2 separate regions of the Homo sapiens genome follow, and region 2 is linked to region 1. Evidence: promoter capture Hi-C in 16 types of primary human blood cells and fetal thymus (Javierre and others, 2016). All regions are on one chromosome and are shown on one strand. The core of a region is centred on a gene start or on the middle of the fragment in contact, and the rest is flanking DNA. Distances in the headings are between cores, read along the strand shown. Region 1 holds the start of OGFR (opioid growth factor receptor). Region 2 holds the start of CABLES2 (Cdk5 and Abl enzyme substrate 2).

Evidence for each region. Contacts are between HindIII fragments. The CHiCAGO score rates a contact against its expected background, and 5 or more counts as called.
Region 2: a contact is called between the fragment with the promoter of CABLES2 here and the fragment with the promoter of OGFR in region 1, in 1 of 17 cell types (megakaryocytes). The highest score is 5.4, in megakaryocytes.

Annotation. Positions count from the first base shown.
Region 1 is chr20:62,801,103-62,807,128 of GRCh38, forward strand. It overlaps OGFR (opioid growth factor receptor), which reads left to right and starts at 3,733. Exons shown (of 7, transcript NM_007346.4): 1 at 3,733-3,928. The coding sequence starts at 3,758. OGFR-AS1 (OGFR antisense RNA 1) reads right to left here and starts at 4,485. Exons shown (of 3, transcript NR_102430.1): 1 at 4,366-4,485; 2 at 913-1,007. It overlaps MRGBP (MRG domain binding protein), which reads left to right. Exons shown (of 5, transcript NM_018270.6): 5 at 1-627. RefSeq lists an enhancer at 3,506-4,411 and silencers at 3,927-3,996, 4,077-4,226, 4,287-4,456, 4,607-4,666. The HindIII fragment of the contact is 9,717 bases long and covers 1-6,026 here.
Region 2 is chr20:62,403,708-62,409,733 of GRCh38, forward strand. CABLES2 (Cdk5 and Abl enzyme substrate 2) reads right to left here and starts at 3,578. Exons shown (of 10, transcript NM_031215.3): 1 at 3,208-3,578. The coding sequence starts at 3,569. LOC105372709 (a long non-coding RNA gene) reads right to left here and starts at 3,187. Exons shown (of 2, transcript XR_936967.3): 1 at 1,183-3,187. RefSeq lists a silencer at 3,495-3,744. The HindIII fragment of the contact is 20,791 bases long and covers 1-6,026 here.

The sequences.
Region 1 (6,026 bases), core at 2,483-4,982:
CCGTGCCATGTGATCGCCCCGTGTGGCACCTGCCACTCGTCTGCACCAAACGCACTGCCAGTTCTGGGGAAGAACAGCCCAGGGAAGCTGCTGGTCTACGGCCTGCCTGAGCTGTATTCCAAGGGTAGAGCAGCTGCCTGGGGGGACCCTGTGGGTCCCTTTTCTATAGAGCCGGGACAAATCCACAGCCCTGCAGTAACAGCCTGCCACAAAGAGCAGGCATCTGGAGGGCCCCACACACATAGACCAAAGGACTGAGCCCGCCTGGCATTCCTCCACTCACAGCACAAATACTCAGCCCTGCAGCCAGGGAAGGGTGGGGTCTCCCTTTGCTGCCCAAGTGTGCCCCCTTGCCCGTCTGATCTCTCCTGTTAGGTCAGCCTCATTCAGGGCTTTGTGCCAGGTCCTGTCCTGGAGTCTCAGTCCGGGACAGCAGCCTGGCTCTTAGGCAGTCCAGAAGCAGCAGGGCAAAGGGGGGCAAATACTAACACGGGGTGTCACGGGATGGCCAGGAGGAGTCCTGCTCGCCACCCAGGCTCACTGTCCTAAACCTCCATCTGAAACCGCATCTCGGGTGACCTCAGATTGTGCTAGGAAAGCCTAGTTAATAAATCTGCCTCATCTCGATTACTGTAACATTTTGCTGCACTTCCAGGAGAAAGCTAGAGCCCACAGGTTAAGCCCACTGGGCAGGTGAGCAGCGTGCCCCCGCCCCGGGCCTCCCTTCTGGACCAGAGGCTGACTGGTTGAAGTCAGGAGCCACGCAGCCCTTATGGACTCACAGGGGCTTCTGGGCTTCCCTGTGGGGAGGCCCAGTTCATGCTCTGCTGGCAGGTGGGATGACCAGGTCAAATTCACAAGTGTCAGGGCAAGGGCGATGTGGCCTCAAGTCCTGGTAAGCGCTGTACTTACCCTCTCCTGGCCCCAGGGGTCCTGTCTGTAACCTGGGGGCTTTATGTAATGCACACTCCACCATGTCATGTAGAAGGTGCCGACTGAACCCCAATCTGAAAAGGAAAACAGCTGGCATGAGGCTGGCCCGTGCACGGACGCTCACGCGCCTGCTGCTGTAGAGGCGAGACGTGGTACACTGTGCACTCGGGACAAGATCTGAACGGGTCAGAAGCCGCCGCTGATGTTGAGCCTGGAAGCCTCAGCAGCGGCTCTACACCTGGAACACGCAGGGCCCAAGAGCACCTGCTGCCGCAGAGACATTTTCTCTATGGCTGGCAGCTGCGGGTGGGGACTCAGTGAAGGCTGAGAGTGGGAGTGATCTGAACTCCCCCGCCTGCCCACCCAGGGCGACCCAGGGGTGACTGGGAAAGGCAATTGGGCTCCACTGCTCCCCAAATAGCAGCGAATAAATACTGAGCGGCAGGGCACTGGCAGCGAGGCTCCCTGCTTGGCTGGTTGATTGAGGACAGGGCATGCTTGGGCCAAATCAGGAGGCTGCCACTGGTCTTGCCTGGAGAAGATATGAAGGCTGTAATCCAAGCTCCCAGCCACACAAAATTCTGCTGGGCTCCTTAGCTGTGAGCATTGCCTGCTCCAGGCACATCACCCACTGCGTGTGCAGAGACCATTGCCCTTCCTGGGTGCCTGGGAGCTGTGTGTGTGTGTGTGTGTGTGTGTGTGTGTGTGTGTGTGTGTGTGTGAGTATGTGACAGAGAAAGAGAGCCCCTTTCCCCAGCCTCAACAGCAAACCCTTCTGGAATGCCGTGCCACACGGGGCGTCACTGGACTGCAGAGGATGCTCTGAAGAAGCAATTCTGTTGCACAGTCCCCTGCAGCAGCTCCTGCACTTCTTGGATTAGCACGCCCCCGAGATGAGCTCTGCACACACACACACACACACACAACACAAAAGCAACTAAAGAAGCAATTTGGTGTGGTGATATTTGTAAAACAGAAGTTGGGCAATGTCTCTAATACTCTTTTTAGGGAAGTGGTTCTATAGTCCTGCCGACAGTAGGTAGCAGCGGGAATGCTGTCCCCGTAGAACAATGTTGTCAGCACCCAGTATGCTTGTCTTTCTGTTTTCTGGGGCAGTGGAGGGGGCAGCCTGACCACCCAAGTCTCAGATCACCCAAACCCTATACAACCACCCAGCACCCATCAATGTCCCCATCAGAGCCCCCCGACTCCACCTCACAGTCTATTCTGATGCTGCAACCAGATCCCACCTGTAAATCATCTAACAAGGAGGTCAGGCAGCTCACTCAGGCTCCCTGGGAAACCTGCCCTGGCCACTGCACTAAGTTGATTTACAGAAATGTCCAGCGCCCCAGAACTTCGGGGCATCACCACTGTCGTTTCAAGAAAGTGTGATGCATGTCCACAGGTTCCAGCCAGGTGAGACTGCACCTGCTAACAGTGGTCAACAGGTCAGCAAAGATTAGGGCCCAGCACCCAGAGGGTCCTTAACCTGTACTTGTGGCCAGGATTGGAAGACTTGCGTTCACGGCTGTCCCTGGCACACAGTACAAGGAATGTCACCAGTTCCCAGGCCCAGCAGGCCTGCAGGGCTAGGAGATGGCAGTGTCCCCTAGGGGCTGGGCTGGGGCCTTCTCCACCTTTCCACCACCATCATTACAGGGACAACTCTGCGAGGAGCTATCCTCATGGCCAAGTCCAAAATCCAGATTTAGTTTTACCTAAATGTTTTGAAATGAATTGGTATAGCAGTTACAGAAGAAATTTATCTGGAGTGGCCACTCCTGATTTTTATTTCAAGAGGTCACCAACCTTGCCATGTATCTGCCAGCAGATGTCAAAGGTGGATGAGCAAGGGACCCGCGGTGCTGGGAAATGGCAGGTGAAAGTGACTTTGTGTTGCCCCATATCTGCCAGTGCTTAGAGAGAGGGCCCTGAGGAGGCGCTGAACTGGCATCAGCTGTGTTGAACAGTCCCCAGGGTGACCCTCCCGGTGGCCCAGGCTTCGTGTGGTCCTCTCCCCTAAGTGCCTTCTTACAACTGAGAGATGGCGGCAAAGGTGAAGGAAGCCACGGCTTGCCCATGTCATCCTGGTTATATAAGACTCGGCACCCTAGAGAGAAAGACTCCCCTGGTGGCTTTGAAAAGAAAACGGCCGTGCTTTGCACTGCCTATGGAGGGACAGGGGTCCGCCAGCAGCTTCCAGGAGCTGAGTAAGGCCCCCAGCCCGCAGCAGAAGGACAGAGACCCCTACACACCCAGCTTAGGGAGAGAGGCCCCTGTGGACACGTGGCCCCTCCGGGGGTTATCCTCCAAGGGACATTCTTCTGATGGGGACATCCTCTGGGGGGATTTCTCTTGGGGGACAGAAATATTCCTGGAAGAGGGGATTCTCTGCGGGGCAGGCATCCTCCGGGGAGAGAATCCTGCTGGGAGGACATCGTCGGGAAGACATCCTTCCTAGGTACCCGGCTCATCTTCCGGGGAGACCGTCCTCTGGGGGGCGGGCAGGCTTTGGGGACATTTTCGGGAGGGAGGATCTCCTAGGGCGGGCATCCTTGCGAGACGGGGTGGGGCGAATCCTCCCGGGTGGGCATCGTGGGGTGGGGGTGGGCGTTCCGCGAGGGGCATCCTCCCGGGCGGACGTTGGGGGATTCTCGGGGGAGGGAGGGGCGCGGGGCGGGCGTCCCGGGGAGGGAGGGGCGTTGCGCGCGGACGCGGGCGGGGCCTGGGCCGCTCCGTCCCCTCCCCCCGCCCGCCCCCCGCGCTTCCTCTGCTTTCGGTTTCGCTTCCGCCTCCAGCGCGAGCCCCGCCGCCGCCGAGCATGGACGACCCCGACTGCGACTCCACCTGGGAGGAGGACGAGGAGGATGCGGAGGACGCGGAGGACGAGGACTGCGAGGACGGCGAGGCCGCCGGCGCGAGGGACGCGGACGCAGGGGACGAGGACGAGGAGTCGGAGGAGCCGCGGGCGGCGCGGCCCAGCTCGTTCCAGGTGCGGCCCCGCGGCGCGGAAGAGGCCTGGGGTCCCCGGCGCCCCCCGCCCGGCTGCGTGGACGGGAGACCCCCCCATCCCGGGCGGAGACACCTGGAGCCTCCTGGAGCTCCCGCAGCCCCGGGGACCCCCCCCCAGACCGGCCGACCCCCAGCCCCAGGGCCCGGCGGGGAAGTGCGGGGGCCGCGCGTGGGTGACAGCGGAGCTGAGCCTCCCGGGCCCCATCGTGTGTGGGCGCCGTTCCCCCCGGGGGTGCCTCGGGCGCGTCCCGCCCCCAGCCGCCGTGGCCGCCCCTGATGGAACCCCTCCCGCCTCGGGCCCGCGCCTCGGCCTCCTGGCGGCCCCTGCGCAGGCCCCGCGGCCTGGGGCTGGGGCTGGGGCTGGGGCTGGGGCTGGGGCCCGGGCCGGGTCTGGCCTGGGAGGCTTCGCGTCTGCACCTGCGGGAGCCCGGGGCGGGCCGACGGGGCCTCCGCTTGTTACTTTTGTTACCGCCGGGCGCCTGTCATCGCCGGGGTTACTTTTGTTGCCGCGCTGGGAACGCCACACTGTCGCAGTCCGGCCCCCCTGTCGGGGAGCTGGGATTGATCTGGGAGCGGCCTTCCAGCTGAGCTGCCCGGGTTGCGGAGGGCCGGGAAGTGCATGGAACTCGACGGCTCCGCATGGATTCTCCCCTTGGCACCCAGCACTGTTTGCGTTTGCGCCTGGCCATGGTGGAGCGGGCAGTGAGAGAGCACGGAGGGGCTCCGCCCTGTCGCCGGGAGGGCAGCGGCCAGGCAGGCTGGGCAGGGGGGTGGGGTCTGGCTCTGTCCCACAGGACGGTGTGACCCCTGGGTGGGCTCTTGACGGGCTTTCCTCACTGGAGTTCCTCAGGCCGCTCTCCTGAAGCGGTGCTCAGAGGCCCTGACCATCCTGCCAGGCGCCCGTGACCCCTGACCTCTTCCCTCTGCCTCCTGCTGTGGCTTCTGTCCACAAGCCCCTCCCCTTCCCCTTTGGACCCCTCAGGCCTCCCCAGCTGCCTGCGCTGGACCCTGGCGGGGCTGTTTCACTTTTTCCTGGGCAGTGTCATGTATGCACCTGTGGGCTGACTGTGTGGCCACATCCAGTCAGGACCCAGCCTCCAGAACTGACCCAGGGAGGCTCCCGCTGGCCCCAGGAAGGAGAAGTAGAAACTGATGATCAGGCGGGGCGAGAGAACCACACCAGCGGCCCTGTTGAGAAATCAGGCCGAGAGGTCGGTGGCGGTGGCTCAGGCCTGTAATCCCAGCACTTTCGGAGGCCTGGGCAGTCGGATCACCAGAGGTCAGGAGTCCAAGATTAGCCTGGCCAACATGGTGAAACTGTTGTCTCTACTAAAAATACAACATTAGCCAGGCGTGATGGGCACCTGTAATCCCAGTTCCTCCAGAGATTGAAGCAGGAGAATCGCTTAAACCTGGGAGGTGGAGGTTGCAGTGAGTGGAGATTGCCTGGGAGGTGGAGGTTGCAGTGAGTGGAGATTGCCTGGGAGGTGGAGATTGCATGAAGCTCCATCTCGAGGGGAAAAAAATAAGAAAGAAAAATCAGGCAGAGAGGCAACGCCAGGTCCCAGCTGGAGCTCAGCGGGGAGCCAGGGGATACAGTGGCTGACCGGGCCTCCTAACCCCCCTTCTAGCACTCCCCCAGGATCCTGGGTCCCAATTGTTGCCCTGGACAAATACGCCCATTCCTGCCCTACCCACCGAGTGAGGCTCAGCCCCAGGCCCCCCACCCTCATCACAAGGTCAGGGCTGTGTCCCACCATCCTCATCACTAGGTACTTCCGGCCCTTTGCTCAGCCCCATGATGCTTGGCCTGCAGAGATGGGGGCTGAAGGGCTTGGGGCATCAAGGGGACCTGACATCTTGCTGAGAAGCCATCACTAGACAGGGCTGGAGGCTGGAGACTCAGGGCCTGCCCTCACCGTGGCCAGTGAGGCGTGGGGTTGGGCAGGGAAGGGGCATTCATTCATTAGACCCTGCCAGAAGCACCTGGGTCCCCTTCTGGGGCTACAGGTGGTGAGGCCACTGCCCCCAAGAACACAGCCTGGTGACTTTAGTGTACAAAGCAGGGGGAGTCTCCA
Region 2 (6,026 bases), core at 2,328-4,827, 400 kb before region 1:
TGCTTTTGGGCATTAGGCAATGGCAAAGTTAAAAGTGAAAATAAACCTGGTTGGAAGTTCTATGAGGAAAACAAGGATTCTAATGATTCACTCACTGGTTCAACACAAAGTGCCACACCAGGCTGAGCCTCCCTGGGAAAGAATAAGTATTAGGACCGAGAAGTTACTGTTCCCTGAGCAGCCTTGTTGTAACAGGAGGCTCCATTTGACTGGGTGTGGCGGCTGCCACCTGAAATCCCAGCACTTGGGAGGCCAAGACGGATCACGTGAGCCAGAGTTTAAGACCAGCCTAGACAATATAGTGAGACCCCATGTCTGCTAAAATAAAAACTTAGCAGGGTGTGGTGTGTGCCTATAGTTCCAGCTACTGGGAGGCTGAGACAGGATAACTCGAGCCCAGGAGGTAGAGGCTGCAGTGAGCTGTGATTGCGCCACTGCACTCCTGCCTGGGAGACAGAGAGAGACCCTGTCTCAAAAAAAAAGAGGCTCTGCTCATCTCACACTGACTCCTGCCACATACCTCACCAAGCCCTGGGCACGCATCTGACCTCTGACCTCAGGGAGGCCATGCTTAGTGCTTAGTGTGAACCCGCTTCTCAGAGGAGATTGAGGCTCAGAGAGGCCATGTCACCTGCTCAAGGTCACAGAGGTACTGAACAGTGCAGCTGGGATTCCAAGCCAAGTCTGTTCCCAGAGCCCAGGTCAAACCACCACACTCACAAGACCAACATCAGGGCTGCCTTCAGGACTTTCAGAATTCTCTCCATTTCCTGAAACCAACTCATCCTAGAACTCTCAAGCCAGGAGCTAGCAGCCCCTTTTGCCGGGGCAGCCACCCTTCCCTCGATCAGCAGCCAGGCCCAGGGAACGCAGGGTGAAATGGACGTCCTCACGCTGGGGTCTACCTATCAGGGAGGGGCCATGGCCCTCAGAAACAAGGTCAGCACCACGAACTTGGCAGCAGAGCCCCAGGAGGGACGCCTCCCCCTCCAGGAACAGAGTGGGGTTCAGGAAAGACCTGAACAGGGACATGGGGGCCAAGGAGGAGGGAAGGGAGGAGACAGCCCTGGGCAAGGCAAGGGGTGGTGGCGCTTGGGCCCATGGTGGGTACGGCAGGAGGACTGCAGGCACCCAGCCCATGCCACGTCCCATCCTGTCCCAGGGATGCCGGCCACAGCGCACCTTCTAACAATCCCACAGGGCAGGGATGTGCTGCACGTGGGCAGCATGCTGCGCTCAGAACTGTCACCATGGAGGCTCTGGGCCTGCAGGGGGTGCCTTCTCAGTCACAGGCACTTCCCTGCGCGTCGCCACGCTCTGCCTCCCTCCACTCAAGTGGGCTCCACTCCACGCCAGGCCTGGTGCACACAGGGGTGCATGAACTCTGTGGAAGGAGGGCCTATGACAGCACCCAGTCTGCCTGGTGTCACCATCCGGTTCTGGACACTCAACATGCAGGACTGAGGGAGAAAGCTGTTTCCATGTCAAACAACAGGGCCCGGGGTTAGGGAAAAGCCCACCACACCTGCGGAGCTCGGCCCGTTGGGGTGAGCCCGCTTCCCCTGGAGTCCACACCTTAGGGCCTTGCCGCTCTGCCCTGGAGAGTCACCACCTTGTTCCATCTCTCCCGCCTTCCTGAAGGAGCTGGCCATGCCAAATGCATGGGGCCTGGCTGCCACATTTGGGCAAATCCATCCCTCTGCCCCAATCATCCCTCTGACCCTCCCTGGAGCAGCGGCCAGGCATGTCCGTGGGGGGACATCTTGTGGACAGGCCTGGGTCTGCAGGCACCCTCAGCCTGGCTACGGCCAGGAACACTTCCAAGGATGGAGTGCACCGCGACCTGCGTGTGACGCAACCTGCATGTGACGTCATAGTCTTTGAGGACAGAGTGCTGTGTTCTGGGCCCAAACTTCCCCAACCAAAGACCTTAGAGGAACCCAATGCCTCCACCTGCCCGAAGGCCAGGGGCGTGGGGCAACTCTGATGACCTCCAGGTAAGCAAGGAGCACGTGCCAGCCTTGACCCAAGAGCTCTGTGTCGGCCCCTTTGCTGCACACCTGCAGGGGCTGCCTCTGGGAACAGCCGCCCAGCAGGCACTTGGACCTGTGGACAGTGGCTCCCTTTGAGAAGGAACCGCAACAAGCAGCCAGTCCTGGGCCCAGAGCCCACAGTCACTCCTGGAGGTGAGGGCTGTGGGAGGCAGGGTCACCCAGGTCCTGTGGTCTCTGGGAGAAGGACACAGGGTGTCGGGCAGCCAGGGGCCATCTGGGCAGGGGGCACACGCTGGACAGGCAGGGCTCATGGTTGGGGTTGCCCTGGGATGGGCTGAGGTGGTTCCCAGAAATGGAATCAAGGCAGGGGGAGCAGTGGAGACCCAGGGTGTGACAGACCCAAAGATACCGAGCTGAGAGTGATGTGGGGAAGGGCGGGGCTCAGCAGGGAAGTGACAGGGAGAGGAGGGGTGCCAGAGACCAGTGGCTGTGGGATGGGAGATGTGGCTGTGCAGGGGCCTCTGGGAACAGGTGTCAGTGACAGTGCCAGGAGGACCCCGGCCCACATGCTGGGTCTGAGGAGGTGGGCATGGACGGTGTGGCCCGGTTCAAAGAATGCGAAGAGATGCACAGGGCTGTCCATGTGTCCCTGTGTCCCGGGCACTGGTACCAGTGGATGGGGGTGGGGGCATGTCCAGAACCCACAGGGCTGGGGGTCTCAGGGGTAATAAGGGCTGAACCCTAAAACCCATTTCAGAGCACTGACAACGTGGAGATCCAGACCCCGTATTCAGGGGCTGGGAGAATTCAGGGGACAATGAACCCTATGTGTGGGGGGTGACAGGGCCTGAGGAAACCCTCAGCCAGCCCAGGAACCCCCAGTTCTGTATCCAGGACTGACAAGGTCCCAGGTGAACCCAACCCCTGTGTCCTGGGCTGATGAGGGCCCAGACTGACCCTGACCCCTGTGTCCTGGGTTGACAGGGGCTCAGGTCACCTGAACCTCTGTCCAGGGCTGACAAGGCCCCAGGTGAACCCAACCCCTTTGTCCTGGCCTCTGTCCAGGGCTGACAAGGCCCCAGGTCACCTGACCCCCTTGTCCTGGGCTGATGAGGCCCCAAGTAATCCTGACCCCTAGTCCTGGGCTGATCCGGCCCCCGTCCCCGTCCCTGTACCCCGCGTCCTGGGCTGACCTGGCCGGGCCCCCACTCACCTCTGGCGCTGCCCATCCAGGCCGAGGCCGGTGGGCACCTGCGTGGGGCTGAGCAGGCCCTGGGGCGCGGGGGTCCTGGCGGGCAGCCCGGTGGGGGGCTCCGGCGGCGGCGGCGCTGGCGGTTCGCGGGCCTCGGCGGGCGGCGGCGGGGGCTTCTCTCCGCCCGGGCCCAGGCTCGGGGGCCGCCCGTCCAGGGAGATGTTGTTGAGGAAGAAAAGCGCGGCCTGGCGGCGCCGCGAGTCCCCGCGCCTCCGCAGCGCCTGCGGCGGGGCCCGAGCGGCCGAGGTCGGCGCGGCGGGTGGCGGGGGCCCGGCGGGGCCGGGGGCCGGGCCCGGGGCTCCACCGGCCGCGGCCGCGGCCATCCTCAGACTGCGCCCGCCGCCGCGAAGCGCCCCACCCCCTGCCCGCGCGCCCGCGCGCCCGCCGCCCATTGGCCGCGGCGCGCCCACATGCAAATGTATCGCCGTCGCGCTCTCCCATTGGCCAGCGAGGTGCCGCGCTCAGGGCGCTCCCCTGGGTCCTAGAGGCGGTCGGACGCAGCAGCAGGGAGTCGGGAGCTGCGCGCCTCCCCGCCGGTTCGAGTCCCCGTCTTGGGACCTGCGGCCGCGGGGCTCTCGCTTTCTGTTCCCTTTGCTGTATGGCGGCCTTCGCGGATGGCCTCCATCGAGCGCACATTTTAAGGCTCCGGACCCAGGGCGGCGTGGGTGAGGCCCCAGCACACTTCCCTGTCCGGAGGTGTGTCTGGGCGGCGCTTCAGCGGGCGCAGGGCGGCCCCTGGAGGAGCCCCACCGCTTCCCGGAAGGGCCCGCGTGCCATCTGGCCTCCTTCATTGACAGAAGGGAACGAGGGTCTGAGTGGAGAAGGCACCTGCTTGGGATCAAAGCCCCAGGCAGAGTCCTGCACTTCCTGCAGTAGCAAAGTGACCTTGAGCCTGCCTTGTGCCCAGGCCTGTTTCCTCTCTGTGCCTGGGTGCCCCTGACTTCAGAACCTGTGAGCCCGTGGCACCGGGATGGTCAGGGCCTGCCTCTGGAGCCCGGGAGCCTGTCTGCAGTCTGGAGGGGAACCCGCTGTATCTTTGTGGAGGGACTCAGGACCTTGCACCCACCTCTGTGTCACCTGCCTGCTCTGTCCAGCTTTCTTTCATGGGTTTACGTATCTTTAAAGAGGGGACAATGATTTCAGCCTCAGGGTACTGTCAGGATGAAACTGGCTCAGTGAGGGGGTCGGGCTGTGGCCGGAGGCCAGGCACATGCAGTGGTCAGTCCGCGAATGCGCTGCAGTACCTCGCACCTGCCCGCATGCGCCCAGCCTCTCCTGTGCTGGGTGCTGGGGACCCGGTGGGACCGACAGGCACAGCGCTGGCCCTAGGAGCACCTGGTGTGTGGGGAGGCAGCATGATGGCCAACAAGGCAGTGGGCGAGTGGGCAAGACAGGGTCTTCATCACCACCCCTAGCATGGGCCCCTGCCCTTCAGGCCCCTACCCACCTCCCGCCTGCCTGCTCCCTCCTGTGGGCCTTCACGGGCCACCATTGGGGCTCACGCAGCATGCAGCACCTCCATTTCCTTTCCCTCCGCCCTTCCAAGTTGGCCTCCAAGGCCTCTGCCAGGCCTAGGGGAAGGTGGGCAGCTGTCCTGTCTAGGAGAACGCGGGGCTGGGTGGCATAGCAGAGGGGTGGCTGCGGATTCTGGATCCACAGAATGGGGTGCTGACTTGTGTGCCTGGGGGCTCCCGTGAGCGGGGAGTGAGTGTGTCCAGCGCTGTAGGGTGCTGAGGCTGGGGCAGGCACACAGTGGGCCCTCCATCCCTGCTGGCTATCACCAGGAGGAGGGGCCTGACAGGGGAGGGTGGGCCATACACCAGCAGCTTGCAGAGAATCTGGTGTCAGATGAGAACAGAAAGGGGCGAGTGAGGGTGGAGGGCAGGACGCAGGAGGCAGGAGGCAGCTGTCCGTGCTGGCTGCAGCGCCGGGTCCTGGGGATCGGCTGTGCAGTAGGGGGGCCCCTAGCCAGTTCTTCTTTGCTGGCGCTAAGCTAGACTTTGAGGGACAAGGAGGAATGCTGAGGAAGGAACGGGGTCTCTTCCTGGGTCTGGTGAACCCCCTTGCTAGGCTCCCGCTGCCAGTCTTCTCCCCTCCCCAGGGTGTCGATGGGTGGCCAAAAGCCAACCTGGCCTGCGGGCAGTGTGTAGGGAACACACGGCTTTTGTTTCGTGTGATTCTGGAGAAATTAAAGCAACCTTTAACACACCTGGACTTCCCTCTTGGGAGTTCAGTCCCTCTGGCCTCTCAGGACAACAGGCAGACATGTCACAGGCTGCAGGTGGGAGGCAGTGCCCCCTGAGTCAGGCCCGCACCCCAGTCTGGCCCAGGCCTCACCCAGCCCAGTCGTTGGCCCGTGTCCTGCCATCCCTGTGATGCGTGGTTTTAAATGCCCAGCTCACCTTGGTGCTTTGGCTGCAGAGGGCCCTGCTCATGAGTTTCGCTCCTTATTTTCTTTGGCTCTCACCCTGAACTCTGAGCAGGTGTCAAGCGCAGGGCTCTGTCTGGATGCTCCTGACTGCAGGCCTGGCCCTTGGGCTGACTTCTTAGTTTCCCCCTTGCCCTGGCACCCCTCCGTGGCCCCCACCTTTCCTTTCTGCCTGATCCTTGTCCATTTTTCTAGAGTTGGGGTCTCAGCAAACTTCCCAGAACATCCTAGCTCCTTGCCTACTTGGCACACTCCTGTTCATCCCTCAGAACCCAAATTTGGGTTGCAGGTGCCACCTGCCTTGACCTCCCAGGGACACCTGCTCTCCTCCCCGTCCCCCAACACTGGCCAT